2 separate regions of the Homo sapiens genome follow, and region 1 is linked to region 2. The links are contacts of gene promoters, found by promoter capture Hi-C in human tissues and cell types (Jung and others, 2019). All regions are on one chromosome and are shown on one strand. Each heading gives the region's core, a stretch centred on a gene start or on the middle of the fragment in contact. The rest is flanking DNA. Distances are from core to core; before and after follow the strand shown. Region 1 holds the start of CNOT6 (CCR4-NOT transcription complex subunit 6). Region 2 holds the start of RASGEF1C (RasGEF domain family member 1C).

The links. Contacts are between HindIII fragments. The study calls those that stand out against the background at their distance.
Region 1: a contact is called between the fragment with the promoter of CNOT6 here and the fragment with the promoter of RASGEF1C in region 2, in 1 of the 25 tissues and cell types used here (mesendoderm cells).

The regions. Positions count from the first base shown.
Region 1 is chr5:180,492,784-180,496,957 of GRCh38, reverse strand. It overlaps CNOT6 (CCR4-NOT transcription complex subunit 6), which reads right to left and starts at 2,579. Exons shown (of 12, transcript NM_001370472.1): 1 at 2,195-2,579. RefSeq lists silencers at 1,810-2,069, 2,100-2,199, 2,370-2,509, 2,640-2,839. The HindIII fragment of the contact is 24,631 bases long and covers 1-4,174 here.
Region 2 is chr5:180,207,831-180,212,331 of GRCh38, reverse strand. It overlaps RASGEF1C (RasGEF domain family member 1C), which reads left to right and starts at 3,121. Exons shown (of 14, transcript NM_175062.4): 1 at 3,121-3,304. RefSeq lists a silencer at 2,986-3,205 and an enhancer at 4,330-4,501. The HindIII fragment of the contact is 4,624 bases long and covers 1,816-4,501 here.

The DNA of each region.
Region 1 (4,174 bases), core at 1,330-3,829, 290 kb before region 2:
CAACCTTATGTCTGCTCAAAAGTTTGAAATTTCCCAATAATTGTAGTTTTACTTTGCCAACAACATTTAAGCAACCTGAAAATACCTACAAATTGAACAGGCATTCAAGAGGAGCCGCTTGGGCTGCATCACCACTATCAAGACACTATGGAAATTACCTAATGATTGACTTTCAGAGAAAATCTTCAGTCTCACAAGAAAATCTGTCTTTCGTCACCGTTTTTATAAAGTGATCAAGACAAGGTCTCACTACGTTGTGACAGTTATCACAGACTTTATATATGTTACTTTATATTTTTCTGAGACAGGGTTTTGCTGGTCTCAAACACCTGGGCTCAAGCCATCCTCCTTCCTCAACCTCCCAAAGCGCTGGGATTACACGGTGAGCCACCATGCCTGGCAATTGCATCATCTTTTTTGATCATTTCGTTCAGCATCTCGTTCATCGACTGAGAAGTGACCTGAAATAACTTCCAACCATTAACATACCCTCCCTCCTCCCAAAAGAACAAACCTCTAGCGATTAGGTCGCACACTCATGCGCTCTCACACGCACACAAACCCGGTCCTTTCCCTCCTCATTACAGTACCATGGGCAAGTCACCTCCACCTAGAAAGGTCTGTCTTCTCATTAGCAGCTGTTCATGTATTTTGTTTAAAGCAAAACACCTGGAGTAGATCACAGATCTAAAGATATTAAGCAATTTTTATTCTAAATTTTACTCTAAAAGTCATCACATTCTAAACACTGTGATGGCCAGGCATGTTGGCTCATGCCTGTAATTGCAGCACTTTGGGAGGCCAAGGAAGGAAGATCGCTTGAGCCCTGGAGTCGGAGACCAGCCTGGGCAACAGAGCAAGGCTCTACAAAAAATTAAAAAATTAGCCGTGGTGGTGTCTGCCGGTAGTCCCAGCTAGTCAGGAGGGTGAGGCAAAAGGATCGCTTGAACCCAGGAGGCGAAGGCTGCAGTGAGCCGAGAACTGTGCCACTGCACTCCAGCCTGGGTGACAGAGTGAGATCCTGTCTCAAAAACAATAAATAAATTAAATAAAGACTGTGATAAATGTCTTAACAGCAATTCCCCAAAAAAGCCTTTAAACCCTTTTGATCAATGGCCCACGTCCACTCCTACAGCCTACTAATCTGTTCTAGAGTAGTAAATTCTAGTATATTGTAAAAAATACAAAGTGCTACTACACACCATTTTATTTTTCAGTTATTCATATTCACTCTCTTCCTCTTCAAAGTTAAATTCCCAGATACAAGTAGGCAAGAAGATTCAGCACTAACAATGAGACAATCCACCTGGAAAACAGGTAAGTATGGGAACTCAAATTGAAGCAGATTATCTAAAACACATCAGCTTACACAGTAACAACAAATCCAAAGAGCTCGAGCGAGATGACCATTCACAACGCTGTCAATGGCAACAACAGTTAAAAACAGAAGGCCACAGGTGTTGGTTAGCAGGCTCTTCGGGGAAGGTGAAGGAGGTAAAGAATCAAAGGAAGTTTCCAAAGAAAATAGCGATTAGTGCTGAAAAACAAAAAGGAGGGATGCAATTTGGGTTACCAGAGAAAACTGCTTGTAGAAACCAGTACAATCTCCGAATCCTTCGCAATACTATAAAATAAGCATCCTCATTGCATGCCAAGTGCTTCTTTAACCTGTAATCCACCCCGTCCTCTCCCTCAAAATCTGCGTTAAACTGAATTTTAAAAACATTTTAGGGGAGGGGGTAAGCAGTTGGTTTCCCGCTTGACAGTAATTGTGGCCACGGAGCGCGAAGCTCCACACTCCACACAGCGCGCCACCCACAGAGGCGCTTCTCAAAAGTTGCCACCCATCTTGGCCACGAGTCCCGGGACACGGACTCGCCTCCTCCGACGACGGCAGCCGGGACCGGCCGGGATCCGGGAGCCCAGCGCCGACCCTCTCCCCTCTGCGCGCCGCCGCCGCCGCCGTCAATCAACGCCCCCCTCCCAGGGACTCGGCCCGGGGGCGCGGCCCGGGGCGGGGCGCGATCGCGGCGCGTCGAAGGGGCCCCCAACAGCCGCCAGCTTGCGGAGCAGCGGGACCGCCGCCCACGAAACGAAAGTTGCCCGCGACCGAGCCCGGCCGACGGGGGGCGGTCCGTGCGCGGCCGGAGAGAGGAGCGGCGCCCCGACCGGGCCTCCGGCCTGCCTCGCTCACCTCTCGGGGTGCGCCGCCTTCCTCCGCCGCTGCCGCCTCCTCCTCCCTGTGAGTGCAGCGGGGTCTGCCCTGTGGAACCACCATACCAGTCCCGCCCGCTGCTGCAGCGCCGCCACCGCCGCCGCTCCTCTGCCGCCTTAGTCGCTGCTCTTTGTTCCCCCTCCGAGAGCCACTGCTTCGGCTGCCCGCCTCAGCCGCCCCGACGGGCCGCCACTACGCCCTCCCGCCCTCTCGGCCCCCGGCCTCGCCCTCCTCGCTGCGCCCGCCGCTGCCTTCGCCTCCGCGCCGCCGTCGCCGCCGCCACCGACGCCGCCGCCTCCTCCTCCGCGCCCCCCTCGTTTTCATTGAAAGCAAACAAGCATCATGGCGGCGGCCGCCGTCCCTCAGCCAGCGAGCGCCCGGACCGCCGCCGGCGCTCCAACATCCTGGCCGCTCATTGGGCGCCGTCGCCGGGCACAACCATCCGCCCTTCGGTGCGGGGGTCGCTCCCGGCACGCAGCTGCCCAGGCCCCGCCCCCTTACCCCCGCGCTGGAGAGCGGTGGACCGGCCCGGCGCGCTGCGGGCCCTGCCTCCCTGCCTGCCGCCCTCCATCCCTTCCTCTCCGTCCATCCTTCGTCTCCTTCTGTTCCCGCTCTCCTCGCTCCTTTCCTGCCTTGGCACTTCTGTTTTCTCCTCTCCTTAGCGCTCCTCCATTTTTCATCTACTTCTTTTTCCGCCCCAGGTTGTCCACTTTTTTTTTGTTTTTTGAGACGGTGTCTTGCTCTTTCACCCAGGCCAGAGTGCAGTGGGGCGATCTTGGCTCACTGCAAGCTCCGCCTCCCGGGTTCACACCATTCTCCTGCCTCAGCCTCCCGAGTAGCTGGGACTACAGGCGCCCGCCACCGCGCCCGGCTCATTTTTTGTATTTTTAGTAGAGACGGGGTTTCACCGTGTTAGCCAGGATGGTCTCCATCTCCTGACCTCGTGATCCGCCCACCTCCGCCTCCCAAAGTGCTGGGATGGCAGGCGTGAGCCACCGCGCCCGGCTGGGTTGTCCACTTTTATCTCCTCTTTTCCTTGATCGTCCTCCCCTTTTTTTCTCCTCTTCCTTTTCCTTAAGCCTTCGCCTGTCAATCACGTCGAAACACAGTATTTGACCGGAGCCAGTATCTTGATCTGCCTAAAGACAAGACATTCAATCGTGAACAGTCGAATATTATTCCTTCCTCAATTATACAAAGAAGAGTAAGTTAACATACCACTTCAGCCTATTAATGGTAATTCATTCCATTACATTAATGGACAGTTTTGGTGCTGGGGTCCTAGCCTGGGTAACGGACAGCAGCTGCTGTGCTCCAAGATCAAAAGGTGTTCAGGGCAAACTCTGGTGTTTGAAGGTCAGCAGAGAAATGACTGGGCTGATTCATGATGCTTACATCAAGAAATATTAGTTGACTGATGGTCAGGGCACAGAGATGAATCAGACCCCACCCAGCCCTGAGTAAGCTCACAGTCTAGGGGCAAGAATAACACCCAACAGACTTAATATTGGAGGTATATTGGTCGGGCGCGGTGGCTCACGCCTGTAATCCCAGCACTTTGGGAGGCCGAGGGGGGCAGATCACCTGAGGTCCGGAGTTGGAAAACAGCCTGACCAACATGGCGAAACTTCGTCCCTACTAAAAGTACAAAAAATTAGCCAGGTCTGGTGGCTTGCACCTGTAATCCCAGCTACTCGGGAGGCTGAGGCAGGCAGGAGAATCATTTGAACCTGGGAGGCGGAGGTTGTAGTAAGCGGAGATCGCACCATTGCACTCAGGCCTGGGCAGCAAGAGCGAAACCCTGTCTCAAAAAAAAAAAAAAAATTTGAGCTATATGTTGAAGGCGTGAAGGAAAAGGAAAGCTGCCTGCCCACCTATGTGGCAAACTAGGATAGGCTGCTAACTGCTTCCTGGAAAATCAACCCTGAAGAAATGAGAGTGAGACAGGTTCCAGGAACT
Region 2 (4,501 bases), core at 1,872-4,371:
CCCAGACCCTGTATGGCCAGTGCCTTGTCTGATGTGCCTGGAGAGGCCCTTCCTGGGCCCTCCCTTCTAAAGCAGCCCCACCGCACTCAACCACCTCCCCAGTATGGCTTCCTTCATGGCGCTCGGCGCTCTCCGAAATGATTGTTTTTACTCTTTTGTTTGTATGGTTAGTTTTCAGCCTCCCTTCTCTAAACCATGAGTTCCAGGGGGCAGGAACCCCATGTCGGGCTCTCTGCTATATTCCCAGCACCCAGCATGGTGCCCGGCACACATAGGCCCTAGGTAAGTGTCCACCCAATAGATGTCTCAGGGCAGTGGTGGGGTGAGGGGAGACTGAGTTGACGGCCCTAGGGATGGCTCACCCTCTGTCCCAATGCCCTCACTCAGGGATTAGCCCCGGGGCACGTTCTGGAGTGAGAAGTTGGGTGGGCAGGGTAGGGGCTGGGCAGGAGAGGTTCCTTGCTAGAGGGCACTCCTGGGTGGGCTATGAGGGGGCGGGAGCAGATACCTCCCAGGGCCCAGTGGTGGCACCTGCAGCCAGGGTCCCACAAAGCTGGAGGCTCAGGGCAGAACTCCACGCTGGCCGCGAGGCTCAAAAACCTTCCTGGTGTTGCATGAGCCGCGACTGCAGCTCATGCGTCTTCCTCAGCACAGGCCCAACTCTCGGCAGCGATGGGTCTGGCAGGGAGAGGACGCAGGAGACCTCAGGGGACACGGTCTTCTCCTTTGTCCCAGAGCAAAGCTCTGCCACCCTCACCCCTGTGGGACACGGAGCTGTGGCCATGAGCTAGTCCACACCCATGTTCCAGTTGCCCTGGCCTCATCCAAGCATCCCCTACCCTGCTCCCAGCAGGGCAATCATGCTTCAGTGGCCCCAGCCACTTGCTGGAGAAAGTTCTTTATCAGGGGACAGCAGCCTTTGCTCACAGAGCAAGGGTGAGCTGGGGAAAGACTGGCCTCACCACCCTGACCTGCACTTGGTTAGGAGGGCCGCTCAGTGCTGCCCAGACCCCAGAACAACACAGCTGAGTGGGTCAGCTCTTCTGAGGTGCCTCTTGCGGCCTCTCCTCCTAGACTCCTGGCTTCCTCCAGGCGACACCCTGGGACTGGACCTGAGGCTTAGGGGCATAGGGTGATAATCGGAGAAGATGCAGGGAGGGCCCAGTGCCTGCACCCTGAGGCGCATCTGTCTATCTGCTGGGAGCACACTGCTCACCCCTGACCAAGTGCCTGCCTCTGTTCCTCCTCCCTTTCCCCACACCTGACCCTTGGTCTCAGATGTCACCCTCCCTAGGGCCAGCCTCTGGCCCTGGCCCTGGCCCCAGCCCTGCTGTCTCCCTGCCTAGCTACCTGGCCCACATTCATTCTAATACATCTGTATGCCCTAGGCAGCTGCCTGCTCTCTCCAGGACTCAGTTTCCCTAACTGTTCAAGAAATGGGCTGGACTGTTGTTCTTAACCTGTCCATTCTTCCAGGAACAGCCTTCACGGAAGCTTGGAACAGCACCTTACTCCATCCTCAAAGCTGACACAGGACTAACTCTGCCTCAGCTCTAGTGAGACGACACCCAGGCCTGCTATTCCTGCTCCCTAGGTCTTTGGAAATGGCCTGAGCTCAGCTCCTCGGAGCCTGTGTGTGGCAGCCGCAGGCTGTCCTTGCAACTATCAGGCAGCTGTGCCCTCTCTGAGGTGTCAACCCAGGGCCATTCTGCCACAGAAAGACTGGGAGATAGGGGAGGCCAGTTTCTATGCACATAGGTTAAGTACCTGGATCTAGCCATTCCTCTAAGCAGTAAACCTTGGCTTTTTATGATCCACAAACCAGCTTTTTGCTCAAGCTGGTTGGGTTGAGTTTTGGGCCACATCTCATCAGGCAGGTCCTGACTAAAGCAGAGTGAGGTGAAGGCAGCTGGAACTTCCGTGTCGGGTGGGGACTTGGAGAACTTTTCTGGCTAGCTAGAGGATTGTAAATGCACCAATCAGCACTCTGTAAAAACGCACCAATCAGCACTCCGTGAAACGGACCAATCAGCAGGACATGGGTGGGGACAAATAAGGGAATAAAAGCTGCCCGCCCACCCCTCGCCAGCCAGCAACAGCGGCGACCGGCTGTGGTCTTTTTCCCTGCTGTGGAAGCTTTGTTCTCTTGCTCTTCACAAGACATTTTGCTGCTACGCACTCTTTGGGTCTGCACCACCTTTTTCTTTTCTTTTCTTTTTTTTTTTTTTTGAGATGGAGTCTTGCTCTGTCGCCCAGGCTACAGTGCAGTGGTGCAATCTCTGCTCACTGCAAGCTCCACCTCCCCGGGTTCACGCCCTTCTCCTGCCTCAGCCTCCCGAATAGCTGGGACCACAAGCGCCCACCACCAAACCTGGCTAATTTTTTTGTATTTTTAGTACAGACAGGGTTTCACCGTCGCACCACCTTTAAGAGCTGTAACACTCACTGCCAAGGTCCCTGGCTCATTCTTGAAGTCAGCCAGACCAGGAACCCAGCGGAAGGGACAAACTGCGGACACAGGAGGACAGGTGTCCTGACCTCTATGCTGGGACCAACCAGGGAACTTTTCACTGAAGACCCAGTTCAAGGAGGCCACTGGATCCTGTTAGAGCCCCTCTCCCTTTCTAAAAGTGAAATCATGCATCGCCATCCTCCCAGAACCCCGGTGTCTTCAAAGTGGTGTCCACCCTCCCTGGGGGCCACGGGAGAGCGCCGAGAAGGTTGGGGAGGGGGGGTGTCCACCCAGGGATGTCCCATTGGGGGACACAGACAACCTAGGTGGCCAGTCCAGAGAACCGGGCCGGGCCCAGTCTTGAGGAGAGAGGGTGAACTGGGTTTTGGGGCGCCAGAGGCCCACCAGGTGAGGTGTAGGCTGGGGCAGCTGGGGCGCAGAGTCCGCCAGGGTCCGCGCGCGGGAGGGCAGCGTCTGACGGCCCGAGCGGGTGGTCCTGGCGCGGGGGGCCAGCCGCCGCGGAGGCCTGAACGCAGGGCGGGACGCTTGGCTCCGCGGCCGGGGCACGGAGGGCCCTGGTGTGCAGCGCCGCCCGCGGGCTCCCGCAGCTCCACCCCCGCGCCCCGCCCGCTCCGCGCTGCCTGAGTGCCACGAGGGGGCGCAGCGCCGCGTTGCTCCGGGGCCGCCGCCAGGCGCTCGTGCGGGCTGCGCTGGGAGCCGGGCGGTCGGGCGGCGGCGGCGGCGGCGGCGGCGGCGGCGGCGGCGGCGGGCGGCGCCCCGGTCCGCGGCGCCGAGGCTCGCACCGGGAGCTGCCCATGGGCCGGGCCCGGAGTTCCGGCGCGCCGGGAGCCGGTGAGTGGTGCGCGGCCGAGGGACACCTGGCGGTGCGGGCAAGGGCGCGGGCTCGCGGGGGCTGGGGAGGGCTGCCGGCGGCGCGGCGGGGTCGGCGGGAGGCGGGAGGCTGCGCGCGGCGCGGGAGCGTGCGCCGGGGTCAGCAGGGGCGGGGTCCGCGCGGCCGCCGGGACTGGAGGCGCGGGGGTAGCGGGTAGGGTACCCTGAGGGCACACCCCCGGCCACCTGGCGGGAGACCCAGCTCTGCCGCGCGCCGCCAGCCCCTGCTGGGCGCGAGGAGCAAGCTTCTTTCAGCCGCTAGAGTGGCAGGAAGAGCCAGCCTAGACCAAAGCCTCCACCCGCACCGGACCTCAGTTTCCCCGTCTATGAAATGGGGACGGGAAAGCAGACCTGCCGGTGCACGTGCAGAAGGGAAAGGGCCTTGCGCCTGGGGGAAGAGGGTGCTGTCACCCTTGAGGATGGGATCGGATTTGAGGAAAGGACCAGCGCCACTATCAGAGGGCCTGCGAGAACAGTGGGGTCTGCTGGGAGTCCTGGGTGTGTCCCTCACGCAGTGACAGCGGACGGCATCAAGGGACCACCTGGTCCACTCATTGTATTTAGATTGGGAAAGCGATGCTTGGGGGGACTTGGGGAAGGGTGCTGGCGACGCCGCCCCATGCTCAGCGTGGGCGTGGGAAACTGTGGGAAAGACAGAGCTGGGAAGTTGGGGTGCTGGTGGAGCTCTTCCGGGCCCGTATCTCCTGCCTCCTGGGGCTGTGGGAGAGACAGAAGTTCTGAGCCCCGGGAGCCTGAGAAGAGTCCTGGGAAGCTCTGCCTGCCAGGCAGGTGGAGTAACTGAGGTTTAGAGAGGGGCGGGACCATGGAGTGGCAACGCTGGGGTCCCACCTCTGGTAAGACTGGCTCCAACAGCCATAGTGCAGCCACTGTGCAGGCGACCGGTGGAGGGGGGCTAGGGTTGTCCACTCACTGGCCACATTCATTGAGCGCCTACTGTGTGCCGCCTGCTGCCTGCCCCCGTAAGTGCTCACTAGCTGGTGTGGGAGGGGACACCAAACAAGAAATCAAAGGCAAAAGCAAGGACATGGCCAAGATCTTATGCGTGCTGGGAAGAACATGCAGTAGGGTGACTGGGGCAGAGGGAGACCAGGGCGCGGCGGAGCCTTCGTCTGGTCAGGGAGGCTGTCCTGAGCGGGG